5 separate regions of the Homo sapiens genome follow, and regions 2, 3, 4 and 5 are each linked to region 1. Evidence: promoter capture Hi-C in 16 types of primary human blood cells and fetal thymus (Javierre and others, 2016). All regions are on one chromosome and are shown on one strand. Each heading gives the region's core, a stretch centred on a gene start or on the middle of the fragment in contact. The rest is flanking DNA. Distances are from core to core; before and after follow the strand shown. Region 1 holds the start of PIGN (phosphatidylinositol glycan anchor biosynthesis class N). Region 2 has its middle 23 kb from the start of VPS4B. Region 3 holds the start of KDSR (3-ketodihydrosphingosine reductase). Region 4 overlaps KDSR (3-ketodihydrosphingosine reductase). Region 5 holds the start of BCL2 (BCL2 apoptosis regulator).

Region 1 (2,897 bases), core at 122-2,621:
ACTGCAGGCAATTCAGGTAACACTATTTCCTGGTAGTGTGATTCAGGTAACTGGAGAAAAAGGAAAATGCTTAAAGCAATAAACTAGTATAAAAGGGAACCTTCTGGAGTCCCGTAATAGCCAGTGAACTAGAAACTCTTGATATTTTATAGATACTGACACCAGTAGGGGAGCCAGGAGCCAAGTGCAACACCAGCCAAGGGTTGGAAGCAGGCAGAGAGAACAGTCATTGCCTGATCCTCTTGCTTCCACCGCAAAAGAGCGCCCCCACCCCAATACTCTCGTTCCTTAAAATGTCCCTATCGGGACCCACGCAGAAATACCCCCTCTCCCCTACAGTAACTCCGTACAATCCCAAATACCCTGCCGGAGTGTGACAGGCTGCGTCCACTTACTGAGCTGTCCCCCGCCCGACGCTGTACTCGGTTCCCGACCTCCAGCGCCCCCAACGCCGGCTGCTCCAGGGACCCCTGGCGCCCCCATCCCCGGCGGGGTTCCACTTTGCCTCTCGAAGTTGCCTGGATTGGAGAAGTAGTCGCGCAGCCGAGGCAGCTCCCGGCCACTCTCTAACAGCTCGGTATGCAGCTCCAGGGCGGTCAGCAAGTATTGATCGCGCAACAGCTGAGCAGCGATCGCATCAATTGATAATCGGGCCGGGGTCTCCCCGGTGCCCCCCAGGGCCACTGCAGCCGCCGACGCCTCCCCAGGGAGCCCTGGCCGCGCACTGCTTCCTAAGGCCACGGGATCCTGTGGCGACAGCGAGCCCGCAGAGCCAGGATCTAGGCCACTTCCGGCGCCCAGCCGAAGTACTGCCCGCCGTTCCTCTGTTGCAGCTACCTCGTCATCGTCCTCATCCGAATCACTGAGAAATGGATTCACGCCGCCACCACTGCCACTACCTCCAGGCGCCATCGCCGCCATCTTATCCTGTCAGGAGTGTGGGCGCCTCCCTGACTGGTTCCGACGGGCCGCAGCCCGAATCCTCTAGGCCTCAGGGGACACAGCGCACCTCCACAGCCCCGGCCTGACCACGTCCTGCCTCCCGACTTAGAGACAAGGAGTACGCTCCAAGGCAGGAGATCCGGATGCAGCTGCACCTGATGCCTCAGCCTCTGCTGCACCAGCAGCCCGGCTCTGCAGGCGTCTTCCTGGTCTCCAGTCTCGCGAGAACTGGAGCGTGCCCCTGCCCCTCTCCCCGATCTAGCCCCGCCCCAGCCCCGCCCCAGCCCACTTCAGCTCCGCCCATTCCCAGCGCCAGATAGCAAAGATTGAAGGCCCCGCTCTCCGCTCAAAAGCAAAACTCCACCCACGACTCCTCCATGATTGGTCAGAGAAGGAAGGCGTGGAGCGGACTGACGGGAGACTGGCCCGAGAATTATCGCGATAGCAGCAGCGGCCGGGCAGGTATTGGGGGCGTTCCGGAATTGAGGGGTGGTTGTAGTGGTGGCTTAGGAATACCCTCCCGGCTATCGCTTCAGTGGGTAGAGGGGACCACTGCCCGAGAGCTTTAATGGAGCTGGGTCCTGCCTTCGCGCTGAGGAGCCCTCGTTTTCGAGATCAGGCCTGACCGGGATAAGCTCCAGGTAAAGTTCAGGGACCAGTGCGCGGAGGGTGTCGGCGCCCAAACTGTGGTGTCGCGCCCGCGGACGCGCTGTTTCCCTACTGCGCTGCACTTTTTCTCGCTATTTGCTGCCAGTGGTGACATTTTGTCCCCATGGATAGCAAGTGCCCAGGCCTGTAGTCGGAATGTGACTTCCTTTCTTTTCCCTTCTCTGCCACATGCTTGCACACTCGGGAGGCCTAGCGACAGCACGACTTCTCAGCCCCGGAGGTGGTCCTGCCTGTGGGTGGGGACGGGGGCTGGAGAGACTAAACGGAAAAGGGAACGCTGAGGTTGGCATTTGCCTGGATCTGGGAACATCGTCGAGTTGGAAAACAAATTGTTAGGTACTCAATAAACGCTTAGGATTTAATACACGATTTACACAACAGGGACCCTTCAGAATATCTAATGCTGTCTCACCAGTAGACAGATAAGTAAACTTAAGCCAAGAGTGGTTGTTATAAAATCAGCTCCACGCCGGGCGCGGTGGCTCACGCCTGTAATCCCAGCACTTTGGGAGGCCGAGCCGGGCGGATCACGAGGTCGGGAGTTCGAGACCAGCCTGACCAACATGGTGAAACCCCTTCTCTACTAAAAACACAAAAATTAGTTGGGCGTGGTGGCGCAAGCCTGCAATCCCAGCTACTCAGGAGGCTGAGGCAGGAGAATCGCTTGAACCCCGGAGGCGAAGATTGCAGTGAGCCGAGGTCGCGCCACTGCACTCCAGCCTGGGCGACAGAACGAGACTCCGTCTCAAAAAAAAAAAAAAAAAAAAAAAAAAATCAATTCCGCTAATAAGGAGTCAAAGGAATTAACATCATTTCTCTTATGTCCCAAACGATTCTTTATCCACTGTCTCCTGCAACATTTCTGACTCGTTCATGCAGGCTAGAATCAAGGTTTTGGAACTTAGAACTATTTTAAAAGTTGAATGCTTCAGAGAGTTTTGATTTTTTTGATGAAATGTTAGCATATAAAGTACATATCCTAAGTTTAGAAGATCAACGTTTATCTTTTATGTCATTCCTTGATTATGATCTGAAAAGGTAAAGGAATTTCCAGTCAATACAATTAGACTGCTATTTCTTATGGCTCCTATTTTTTTCACACACAAATGACCACTTTTCCAGGCTTTAGATTTCCTTTCTTAGTGTACAGGTAAGTGACATATTACATTCAGTGTGTAGTAAACATTCCACAGTAAAGTATCTCCCGTTAGCTCCATGGAAAAATTAAAATAGACGATTCTTACATAACCTTAGGTCAGGTTATTGGTTTACATGTAAAAGTATGC
Region 2 (2,897 bases), core at 120-2,619, 1.3 Mb before region 1:
AGCCTTCAATTGTGCAACTTTGTTTAACAATATATCAAACAGTATATACCATTCCCATCAGCAGTGCCTTAATCATAAGTAAACACATAGAAACACCTAAAGGAGTACCCATGAAGCTACAGATGCGACGTACAACATGACAACAAACTTCACACCAGTGCCTTAGTGTTCAGTTTCCTTGCAAATTCAAGGAAATAATACTAATGAGTAATGGATCAGGTAGATCCTTTTGCTTGCAAGTAACAGAAACATAAGCTTGCCCACAGTGAAAGGAGACAGTATATGTCCATTTAAACAAGTAGGGTAGGCAAAGACCAGGGATTTAGCCCAGGCAGGACATTATCTCACTTCCTTTCATCTCTGCTTCTCTCTGCATGTTGGCCTCAGTCTACCGCTGCAGGTGGACTTTCCCCAGGCAACAGGAGACCTACAGCTTCATCAACACCTACCCCATGGCCAGAGAGCACAAAGCTCTATCCGGCCAGCTCCAGGCAGGCAGACCTCAAGGCAGCATGCTGATTGGCCAAACTCTGGTCACATGTCCATCTCCAGACCAATTAGTATTGTCCAAGTCTGTTACCAATGAAGTAAGTCCCACGGGTCACTGAATTCAAATTGTTCCATTGCAAAGAGTGTCACCTCTCAGATGCCCTTTCAGAAACCTTAGAGCAGTTATTATTGCAATGATTAAGCAACAATTAATAATAACAAGCCAAAGATCTTCCTTGATTTTAACTTCACGAATTTAAAATTTATTCTTATGTATACATAGCACTGAATTGTATTTGTTTAAAAGCTCAAAATCACTTTTTAATGTTTATGATATATTAATATACAATGTAGGACTAAGAAAAATTATACTTTTGTAGGCCAGGTGCAGTGGCTCATGCCTGTAATCCTAGCACTTTGGGAGGCCCAGGTGGGCGGATCACTGGAGCCTCAAATGCTGGAGGAGGCCCAGGGAGACAGCACGTCTCTATCAAAAAGTCCCCCCTGGGGTTACAGGTCATGACAACCCTGGAGGGGTAATGGCAGTACAAGAGTGTGTCTAGGCCGGGCACCATGGCTCACGTCTGTAATCCCAGGACTTTGGGAGGCCAAGGCGGGTGGATCACCTGAGGTCAGGAGTTCAAGACCAGCCTGGCCAACATGGCAAAACCCTGTCTCTACTAAAGATATAAAAATTAGCTGGGTGTAGTGATGCACACTTTTAATCCCAGCTACTCAGGAGACTGAGGCAAGAGAATCACTTGAACCCGGGAGGCAAAGATTGCAGTGAGCCGAGATCATGCCACTGCACTCCAGCCTGGGCCACAGAGGGAGATTCTGTCTCAAAAAAAAGAAAGAAAGAAAAAAGAAAAAAAAAAAAAAGAAAGAAAAAAGAAAAATTATACCTTTTCATTTAGTTGACTAATAACCATAGGTATTTGTGTTTATTACATACTTTCAAATATTAAATTATATTTCTTTTGAGATACTCCATAATTTAGAATTTTCCTTTATGTAAACTCACGTTTTTCCCAATAACTCTAAGCCAATGAGGCTTGGCTCCTCTCTCTGGGCCTTTCTTTCTCTCTCTCCTCAGTCAAACCCACCCTCTCTGCTGCTCCCATAAAACGTCTAGGAGAACTGGTTAATTTCCTCATAAGACAAGATATTTGGCTTTAGGATACAAATGTGACTGGGCAGGCTCTCTGCCCAGGGACTGGGCCCAGCTCCGAGTGGGGTTTGTTCCAACAGAGAATCACCCTAACAGGCCCCAACAAGAGGATCATGGGTTCCAGCTTCTAGGAATGAGGGCTTTTCTGCTACATGATGCCCAGCACCTTGTCTTCTGTGAATCTTGGCTCAAGAGAATGAATTCACACTTTGAGGAAGAATGGGGAAGAATTTTTGGGTGTGGTTTTTGGTTGTTCTGTGGGGGGTTTTGGCCATTAAAGAAAATAGCTCCCATTTCAGGCGCATATTCACCCCAGGAATGGGGTTGCTGAACTGTGCCTTTGAAGAATGAATGCTAGTACTCAAATCCATCATCACGATGGGCACCCTACCTTAGGGATGAAGTTTTATGTGGTAATAAGTAATAAAATATATATGTACGCATTTCGAGAGACATAGTTACATCTCATGGAATCAGAAGCAGAACAAGCTGTTTCCCCAGAGACTCTTTTTTTAACTTCCTGTCAGCCTCAGTGATGGCTCCACAAGTGTTTATTGCCAATGAGTGACATAATCGCTGTCTCATTCAGACAGCACATTTTGCAAAGACACTCCGTTTGACTCACTCAGACATACTGGGTGTGTGTGTGTGTTGTAATATTTCTATAAGCTACCACGTGCTTTTAATTTATTGAGTTTTCAAATGTCTAGGCATTCACTCAGGTTTAAAAGTAAGTACTCAAGAAATAAGCAATCTATATTTCCAACCACAACACTTGTTAAATTGAATAAACAGGAAAAAAAAGGAATGAAAAATAAGCTTTTTAGAACTATGTTTCAGGCTGAATGAGGTGGCTCACACCTATAATCTCAGCCGAGGCAGGTGGATAACTTGAGGTCAGGAGTTCGAGATCAGCCTAGCCAACATGGTGAAACCCCATCTCTACTAAAAATACAAAAATCAGTTGGGCATGGTGGCAGGCGCCTGTAATCCCAGCTACTCGGGAGGCTGAGGCAGGAGAATTTCTTGAACCCAGGAGGCAGAGTTTGCAGTGAGCTGAGATCGCACCACTGCACTCCAGCCTGGGCGACAGAGCAAGACTCCATCTCAAAGGGACAAAAAGAAAAAAAAAAAGAACTATGCTTCAAATGGCTCATAGAACATAAGGTAAAGTTCTGCACACTCAGGATTCCCCCGCCTGTACCATGACACGCCCTTGACTCATTGCTCATTTTAG
Region 3 (2,897 bases), core at 119-2,618, 1.2 Mb before region 1:
TATCATGGATGAACCTTGAAAACATTACAGTAAGTGAAAGATAGGATGAAAAAGGCTACATATTATATGATTCCATTTATGTGAAATATCCCGAATAGGCAAGATTATAGAGACAGAAACATGAGGGATTGCTTAGGCTTGGGCGGGGCTTGGGAGGAAATGGGTCGTGACTGCCAATGAGTATAGGATTTTGGGGGGTTGTGACAAAAATGTTCTAAAATTTATGGTAGTGATGGGTCTACAACTGTGACTATATTAAAGACAATTTATTATAAGCTTTATTTATTTATTTATTTTTGAGACGGAGTCTTGATCTGTCACCCAGGCTGGAGTGCAGTGGCGCGATCTCACCGCAATCTCTGCCTCCCGGGTTCAAGCGATTCTCCTGCCTCAGCCTCCAGGGTAGCTGGGATTACAAGCATACGCCACCATGCCCGGGTGATTTTTTGTATTTTTAGTAGAGACGGGGGTTTCACCATCATGGCCAGGCTGGTCTCGAACTCCAGACCTGAAGAGATCCGCCCGCCTCAGCCTCCCAAAGGTCGGGGATTACAGGCGCGAGCTACCTCGCCCGGCCTATTACGCACGTTAAATCGGGAATTGTATGGTATAGTACGTGAATGAGACCTTAATAAAGCTGAGTTGTTTGCGTTATTTATTTGTTTTGAACCTGCTTGGTAAAGATGAACTCTGAACTCAATGAAATTGAATTACCTTAGTGATTCCTCAAAACTCCCTGTTAAGGCTTTCCGGTCCTCTGAAAAGCGAAAGTGGGCCGTGACCATCTTCTAAAAACGCCAAAAAATATGGAATGGAGCCCGGGATTTCAGAGCGTAGTCGCTGGGCTCCCAGGCTGAGCCCGCTCCGGGAGCCTCCAGCCGCCCTTTCCGATGCTCCGGGGCCTCCGAGCAACCCAGCGGGCAGTCCCAAGCCGAGGGCTGAACTCCAGGGAGGAGCGCTCGTCACGCCCACACTGGAGGCCGTGGCAGGCCTGGAAACCCGCCCTGCGGGGTCCTAAGAAGCCATTCGAGCTCCCGAAGAGCGAGTCTTCGCAGCCCTTCCCGGCGCGCTCGCATCTGGCGCTGTCCGGAGCCCGCTCGCGACGCACAGGGACGGGAGGCCCGGTTTCCACGGGAGAGGCTGCGGACTGCGGGCCCCGTCCCGAGGCCGGGGGAGTGGGAGACACCCGGCGACCCCCGAGAGGCGATTCTGGCAGTGGTGGCGGTGGCGGTGGCGGTGGCGGCCTACTCGCCCCCTGGAAGCACCGCCCCGCCTGGGTGGCGCGCGCGCCGGCTCCTCCTCTTCCCCTCCGCCGCGGCCCGCCCCGGCCCGCAAACCCAAACACTCCAGGCGCCCGCCCGCCGCGCGTGATTCTCGCCTCGCCGCAGCCCAGCCCTGCGCGCCTTGCCCGGCGGCCCCCGCCCGGCCGCTCCGGGCCCCTGGCCCCGCGGAGCGATGCTGCTGCTGGCTGCCGCCTTCCTCGTGGCCTTCGTGCTGCTGCTGTACATGGTGTCTCCGCTCATCAGCCCCAAGCCCCTCGCCCTGCCCGGGGCGCATGTGGTGGTGAGTGGCCTCCTGTTGCTGCCCCCCGACTTACCGGCCCGCGCGGCCTTTCCGCCGCCGAGGCCGCGTAGCCTACGTCCCTTTTTCCAGGCCGCGGTCCCCAGGAAGGCATGGCCAAATGGGGAAGGTCACCTGCCGCCGTCCACCCCGGCGCTTTTCCCCCGGCCCCGGCACCCGGCCTCGCGGACCCGCCCTCCGCAGCCTCGGGCTCCTCCTAGGGCCGGAGAGCGTGCGACGGGGGACCCCGCCGGCCGCAGGGTTCCCGGGGCCCCAGGGGTTCTGTGGCTGCTCGTGAATCCATGCAACATCCCTGGGATGTGGATGTTTTGTCCTCAGTTTTTCCGATGAGTCAACTGAGGCACAGAGAGGCTGAGAAACTTTGCCAAGGACACAGCGGTCGGTGGTGTGCAGGGTGCGGCGCGCGGCCCCGGGCGGGGGCAGACAGCGGGGAAGTGGGGTCCCAGCCGCCGGGACCCGCCGAGGCAGCTCGGAACTGGAAGATGGCCTGTGCGAGTGACGGGAAGAGCCGCTGCCAGAGGATTCCAGGAAGTGACTCACCTGGGGAAACTGCTCAGAACCCAGCGGGCTGGCGGTGGTGGCTTAGCGGTATTGGGACGCCTGTCCCGTCTACACTGCTTGTCTCTGAGCTCAGCGTGGCATCTGCTGATTGCTGCTCCAATGCAATCCTTTGCTGTTTTCTAGTGGGAAGGATGAGCTAAACGACAAGGCTTGTGTGCGAGGAATGAAGGAGAGGTGGATAGGTGTGATTTATTTCTTGGCGGAAGCTCGCATATTCAGCGATCCCTGTTCTGCAAATGTGGCACCTTTCTTAAACAGAGAGAATGCCTCCTTGCCTGCGCCCAGCACTTTCCCGTTTGCAGTGGCTTTCTCACGAGCATTCTCGTTTGGATCTCCCAAACCCGAGGCACAGTGAGGCGAGGAGTTAGGAGTAAGGAGGGTTGGTTACAAAATTGGCCGCACACCTCTTCCTGTCCTATCTCTGCACCGGAGATCCGAGCCTCCCCGCTGAGCTGGTATAAAATAAGATGGTCGTTTTTCTTAGTATGCTTTAAATCTGTACAAGGGTTTGTGAATGAGAAAATGTATCTGTTTAATTTCTCCTTTGTAAAGCTATTAGCTTTTTCCAACACCTCCTGTTCCTAATGGGGAAAGAGTGTGGATTCATTACAAAAAATAAATAAGAGAAAGGCAAAACTTGACACTCTAAATTCTGAAAGTTTTACATCCGCAAGAGAACTGCTGCCTCAAAAGCGTGGCTTTAAACCTTGGATCCTTTCAGAGCTTGAGTTTATAGAGCATAACTTTGCAAAAAC
Region 4 (2,897 bases), core at 398-2,897, 1.1 Mb before region 1:
TGCTTTTTGACAACATTTCTGTTAATGCGGAAAAATGCACATTTATGAGGGATGTCTGTAAACCACAGACCCACACTGAATTTGGAAAATCTATAGGACCATTGGAATGAGAGGTGTCAGCACATGGTGGACAGCCTTGAAGTGGCCTAAATGCTGTCACATTAGACTGAACTGAGCAGAATGAGAATAGTGAATTCTGTTGAAATATATACATGTGTGAAGAACTTTGTCCTGAGTGCATTAAAAGGCTCAGGAAGATGGCACAAGTGAGACTTTATTTTTCCTGCTTATCTCGGGTCAAAGCAAATGCATTTGGTGTTTTTTGTTGTTGTTGTTGTTTTGTTTGTTTGTTTGTTTTGAGACGGAGTTTTGCTCTTGTTGCCCAGGCTGGAGTGCAGTGGCACGATCTTGGCTCACTGCAACCTCTGCCTCCTGGGTTTAAGTGATTCTCCTGCCTCGGCCTTCTGAGTAGCTGGGATTACAGGTGCTCACAACCACACCTGGCTAATTTTTTGTATTTGTAGTAGAAATGGGGCTTCACCATGTTGGCCAGGCTGGTCTCGAACTCCTGATTTCGGGTAATCCGCACGCCTCAGCCTCTTGGCCAAAGTGCTGGGATTACAGGCGTGAGCTCCGTGCCCAGCCCATTCAGTGTTTCTAATGATGCTAAATAGCTCTTAGTATTTTGGCAGTATTCATTTAGTTTAGTGGTTTTCAAACTTTTCTTCTCTTGACCACTTTACATTCTTACAAATTGTCAACAACCCCAGAGAACTTTTGTTTATTTACATGGCTATATTTATTGATATTTGCCATATTTGAAATGGAAGCTGTTTGTAATATTTATTGATTCATTAAAAATAACAAAAATGGCTGGGCACAGTGACTCGTGCCTGTAATCCCAACACTTTGGGAGGCCAAGGCGGGCGGATCACCTGAAGTCAGGAGTTCAATACCAGCCTGACCAATATGATGAAACCCCGTCTCTACTAAAAATACAAAAATTAGTCGGGTGTGGTGACATGCGCCTGTAATCCCAGCTACTTGGGAGGCTGAGACAGGAGAATCGCTTGAACCCAGGAGGTGGAGACTGCAGTGAGCTGAGATTGAGCCATTGTGCTCCAGCCTGGGCAACAAGAGCAAAACTCCATATATATATATATATATATATATTCACATATATATATATATAAAGTCACATATATATATATATAAAGTCACATATATATAAAGTGACTTTTTTTAAACAAAATTTACTACTTTTCAAAACAAAAGTTCAGTGAGGACGGTGGCATTGGTTCACATTTTCACCAGTTGCTTTAAGGTCTGCATTAACAGCTGGATTCAAATAGCTGCTTCTGCATTCCATCTGTTGTAATAATGTTGTTTTGATGGAAGGATATACAGAAAATCTGGCCTGAGACAGATACGGAGTTGGGAAAGGGAAGACTATTTTACTAGGCTTTTCAGATAATTATGGACATTCTTTTTTGATATCAAACCCAAACTCAACAAATGGTAGTTTCTTAAAGGTTAGTTGCAGTATAGAATTGGAAACTACATCAATGAATGTTTTGTTCTCTGTTACATTAAATTCCATTGGTCCGTCTTGTACTTTGAATGGATCTTTTAACCATTCATGATTTCGTAACATTATGCATTAGTCATTTGGAAAATATGGGTTGACTGAGTGATCAGAAAAATCGCTTTCATCAGTATTACTGCTGATCTTATCATAAAAGTATGCAGCTGACAGTCTCGTGATGGTGGATACTAGTTTTTCCAAATCTTAATTTTTTCTTGAAGGCTCAGATTTCACATTGATGACACGTGGCCAGTTGTTTTTCCTGAAGTGACACACTTGCTTGCTTCGCTTTCTGCACATCTGCCACATACCTAAGTCTGAATTACTATAGATTTCCTGTCAATGGTCTTTCATATAAAAATTATGCTCTCCAGCCAGGCACGGTGGCTCATGCCTGTAATCCCAGCACTTTTGGAGGCCGAGGCGGCTGGATTGCTTGAGCTCAGGGGTTTGAGACCAGCCTGGCCAACATGGTGAAACCCCATCTCTACTAAAAATACAAAAATTACCCGGGTGTGGTGGTGCATGCCTGTAATCCCAGCTACTTGGGAGTCTGAGGCAGGAGAATCACTTGAACCTGGGAGGCAGAGGTTGCAGTGAGCAGAGATCACACCACTGCATTCCAGCCTGGGCCACAGAGTGAGATTCTGTCGAAAATAAATAAATAAACAATACAAATGATGCTCCATGAAAGAAGTGGCAGTTTAGCCCTTGACTTCAGGAGCTGCACAAGGACTTTTGTTCCAGGCAGTTGTCCCGCCCTGGAATGCAGTGCTGCGGAAGCGCGTTGGGCGCATTCTCATTTGTCACACAGAGTATTAAGAAGACATGTCCTCGAGGGTTGCCATTGAACAAAATGATGAATTTTCCTGCTTTATCAAGAGGATTTTAAAGCAAAACTGACACTTTGATTTTTAAAAGAATTTTAGAACTTGTATTTTCTTTGTGTATTATTTATTACTGCGAGTGCGTGTGGTAGTAGAGGTGACAATGACTCCTAGTACAGTTTGGCAAGAACCCCGTGGTTCTTGCCCATGTCTCTGCAGTTTTGCAGAGGCAAAACTGTATTTTCCATACAACACACTGTGGAAAAGACAATGAATGTCTTAGTGTTATTAGGACAATCATTTGTCCTTGGGGGCCCGCAGGGGTCCGTGGACTCACTTGTTGAGAACTGCCATCTGCCAAGGCCGTGCGTCCATTTCTGAGTGCTGATCAATGCTTTGTGACCATTTTATCTCACTTAAAGTGAACGAGCACACTCCACTGTTTCTGATGTGTCCGACTGATTTCTGTCCACATTACTAGGATT
Region 5 (2,897 bases), core at 205-2,704, 1.1 Mb before region 1:
AAAGTTACTATATGGAAGTCCTCATCGTGTAGCACTAAACCAGTGTAAAAGGTGTTAGGGACAGAGGGAAAACATTGACTTAAACTGTCGTAAAGCCCTTGATAAACCCCTTCCCTGGAGCGCTGAGTTCTGCATGGCCTGGGCCACGGACTAGGTGTTCAGGTGGACACGGGCGGGGATGCGCGTGCGTGTGTAGTGCGCGGACACCTAGGAAGCTACTTGAAAGTAAACACCACGCTCGGGGCGTCCCTAGACATTGCTTAAAACGTGCAGAGTCACCTGTCTTCACAGCAGGGCAGCGCTGAGGTCCCACTGCTGGGGGCGGTGGGGGGCGGCATTGGCCTGGGTCTTCCCCCGGCGGCCGAGCGCCGGTAACACAACGTGTGTGTGTGTAGGCGCGTGTACACACTCTCATACACGGCTAGAAAGGGTCCAGGCGACACACACACTCCCACATACACGGCTAGAAAAGGTCCAGGCGAGACACACACACACACACACACACACACACACACTCCACACACACTCACACGGCCAGAAAGGGTCCAGGCGGTTCCCGGCGCTTTTCCAGCCCTTGTTTTCATGGCGCACCCTCCCGCCAGCCGCCCCCCTCCGCACTCCGTCGTCCGCCCGGCCCGGCCGCGTGCGGTTCCCCGGGAGCCCCCACCCCGTCGCGGACCCCAGCGACCACCAAGTCCGCACGCGGCCTGCCGCAGGCCTGAGCAGAAGGCCCCGCGCACACCCACCGCGCCGCGGCCGCGCGGGAGGCCTGTGCCGCCCGCGCCACCCACTGGCCGGGCCCCGCGGGCGCAGCGGAGCGGGCGGGTGGCCGGCCCGGACGCGCCCTCCCCGGCCGCGGCCCCGCGCGCCATGTGCCCCCGGCGGGACGCGCCACTCCCGGGCCTGCCGCGGCGCCTTTAACCCGGGCCAGGGAGCGGGGCGGAGGGGGCGGTCGGGTGGCTCAGAGGAGGGCTCTTTCTTTCTTCTTTTTTTGAATGAACCGTGTGACGTTACGCACAGGAAACCGGTCGGGCTGTGCAGAGAATGAAGTAAGAGGACAGGCACCACAGCCCCGCTCCCGCCCCCTTCCTCCCGCGCCCGCCCCTCCGCGCCGCCTGCCCGCCCGCCCGCCGCGCTCCCGCCCGCCGCTCTCCGTGGCCCCGCCGCGCTGCCGCCGCCGCCGCTGCCAGCGAAGGTGCCGGGGCTCCGGGCCCTCCCTGCCGGCGGCCGTCAGCGCTCGGAGCGGGCTGCGCGGCGGGAGCTCCGGGAGGCGGCCGTAGCCAGCGCCGCCGCGCAGGACCAGGAGGAGGAGAAAGGGTGCGCAGCCCGGAGGCGGGGTGCGCCGGTGGGGTGCAGCGGAAGAGGGGGTCCAGGGGGGAGAACTTCGTAGCAGTCATCCTTTTTAGGAAAAGAGGGAAAAAATAAAACCCTCCCCCACCACCTCCTTCTCCCCACCCCTCGCCGCACCACACACAGCGCGGGCTTCTAGCGCTCGGCACCGGCGGGCCAGGCGCGTCCTGCCTTCATTTATCCAGCAGCTTTTCGGAAAATGCATTTGCTGTTCGGAGTTTAATCAGAAGAGGATTCCTGCCTCCGTCCCCGGCTCCTTCATCGTCCCCTCTCCCCTGTCTCTCTCCTGGGGAGGCGTGAAGCGGTCCCGTGGATAGAGATTCATGCCTGTGCCCGCGCGTGTGTGCGCGCGTGTAAATTGCCGAGAAGGGGAAAACATCACAGGACTTCTGCGAATACCGGACTGAAAATTGTAATTCATCTGCCGCCGCCGCTGCCTTTTTTTTTTCTCGAGCTCTTGAGATCTCCGGTTGGGATTCCTGCGGATTGACATTTCTGTGAAGCAGAAGTCTGGGAATCGATCTGGAAATCCTCCTAATTTTTACTCCCTCTCCCCGCGACTCCTGATTCATTGGGAAGTTTCAAATCAGCTATAACTGGAGAGTGCTGAAGATTGATGGGATCGTTGCCTTATGCATTTGTTTTGGTTTTACAAAAAGGAAACTTGACAGAGGATCATGCTGTACTTAAAAAATACAAGTAAGTTCTCTGCACAGGAAATTGGTTTAATGTAACTTTCAATGGAAACCTTTGAGATTTTTTACTTAAAGTGCATTCGAGTAAATTTAATTTCCAGGCAGCTTAATACATTCTTTTTAGCCGTGTTACTTGTAGTGTGTATGCCCTGCTTTCACTCAGTGTGTACAGGGAAACGCACCTGATTTTTTACTTATTAGTTTGTTTTTTCTTTAACCTTTCAGCATCACAGAGGAAGTAGACTGATATTAACAATACTTACTAATAATAACGTGCCTCATGAAATAAAGATCCGAAAGGAATTGGAATAAAAATTTCCTGCATCTCATGCCAAGGGGGAAACACCAGAATCAAGTGTTCCGCGTGATTGAAGACACCCCCTCGTCCAAGAATGCAAAGCACATCCAATAAAATAGCTGGATTATAACTCCTCTTCTTTCTCTGGGGGCCGTGGGGTGGGAGCTGGGGCGAGAGGTGCCGTTGGCCCCCGTTGCTTTTCCTCTGGGAAGGATGGCGCACGCTGGGAGAACAGGGTACGATAACCGGGAGATAGTGATGAAGTACATCCATTATAAGCTGTCGCAGAGGGGCTACGAGTGGGATGCGGGAGATGTGGGCGCCGCGCCCCCGGGGGCCGCCCCCGCACCGGGCATCTTCTCCTCCCAGCCCGGGCACACGCCCCATCCAGCCGCATCCCGGGACCCGGTCGCCAGGACCTCGCCGCTGCAGACCCCGGCTGCCCCCGGCGCCGCCGCGGGGCCTGCGCTCAGCCCGGTGCCACCTGTGGTCCACCTGACCCTCCGCCAGGCCGGCGACGACTTCTCCCGCCGCTACCGCCGCGACTTCGCCGA

Evidence for each region. The method cuts DNA at HindIII sites, captures the fragments that hold promoters and counts their contacts. A CHiCAGO score of 5 or more calls a contact.
Region 2: a contact is called between a fragment that was not itself captured here and the fragment with the promoter of PIGN in region 1, in 1 of 17 cell types (naive B cells). The highest score is 6.7, in naive B cells.
Region 3: the fragment with the promoter of KDSR here is called in contact with the fragment with the promoter of PIGN in region 1 in 1 of 17 cell types (non-activated CD4 T cells); the score reaches 5.3 in non-activated CD4 T cells.
Region 4: a contact is called between a fragment that was not itself captured here and the fragment with the promoter of PIGN in region 1, in 1 of 17 cell types (fetal thymus). The highest score is 5.9, in fetal thymus.
Region 5: the fragment with the promoter of BCL2 here is called in contact with the fragment with the promoter of PIGN in region 1 in 1 of 17 cell types (fetal thymus); the score reaches 8.1 in fetal thymus.

The regions. Positions count from the first base shown.
Region 1 is chr18:62,185,530-62,188,426 of GRCh38, reverse strand. It overlaps PIGN (phosphatidylinositol glycan anchor biosynthesis class N), which reads left to right and starts at 1,371. Exons shown (of 31, transcript NM_176787.5): 1 at 1,371-1,583. RELCH (RAB11 binding and LisH domain, coiled-coil and HEAT repeat containing) reads right to left here and starts at 1,172. Exons shown (of 29, transcript NM_001346231.2): 1 at 396-1,172. The coding sequence starts at 921. RefSeq lists silencers at 487-706, 1,657-1,869 and an enhancer at 857-1,066. The HindIII fragment of the contact is 4,021 bases long and covers 1-2,897 here.
Region 2 is chr18:63,444,101-63,446,997 of GRCh38, reverse strand. No RefSeq gene overlaps it. Among named protein-coding and RNA genes, the nearest start is that of VPS4B, 23 kb to the right of the region's middle. RefSeq lists a silencer at 2,148-2,257. The HindIII fragment of the contact is 2,224 bases long and covers 258-2,481 here.
Region 3 is chr18:63,365,677-63,368,573 of GRCh38, reverse strand. It overlaps KDSR (3-ketodihydrosphingosine reductase), which reads left to right and starts at 1,368. Exons shown (of 10, transcript NM_002035.4): 1 at 1,368-1,563. The coding sequence starts at 1,456. It overlaps KDSR-DT (KDSR divergent transcript), which reads right to left and starts at 1,250. Exons shown (of 2, transcript NR_186602.1): 1 at 715-1,250. LOC124904317 (a long non-coding RNA gene) reads left to right here and starts at 1,574. Exons shown (of 2, transcript XR_007066400.1): 1 at 1,574-2,324. RefSeq lists silencers at 996-1,045, 1,156-1,605, 1,676-1,735, 2,086-2,135 and enhancers at 997-1,944, 1,984-2,278. The HindIII fragment of the contact is 10,630 bases long and covers 279-2,897 here.
Region 4 is chr18:63,335,390-63,338,286 of GRCh38, reverse strand. The region is part of intron 8 of KDSR (3-ketodihydrosphingosine reductase); the gene reads left to right. Among named protein-coding and RNA genes, the nearest start is that of BCL2, 17 kb to the right of the region's middle. The HindIII fragment of the contact is 6,476 bases long and covers 1-2,897 here.
Region 5 is chr18:63,318,326-63,321,222 of GRCh38, reverse strand. It overlaps BCL2 (BCL2 apoptosis regulator), which reads left to right and starts at 1,454. Exons shown (of 3, transcript NM_000633.3): 1 at 1,454-2,049; 2 at 2,271-2,897. The coding sequence starts at 2,557. RefSeq lists silencers at 578-647, 678-887, 1,048-1,237, 2,593-2,832. The HindIII fragment of the contact is 7,545 bases long and covers 1-2,897 here.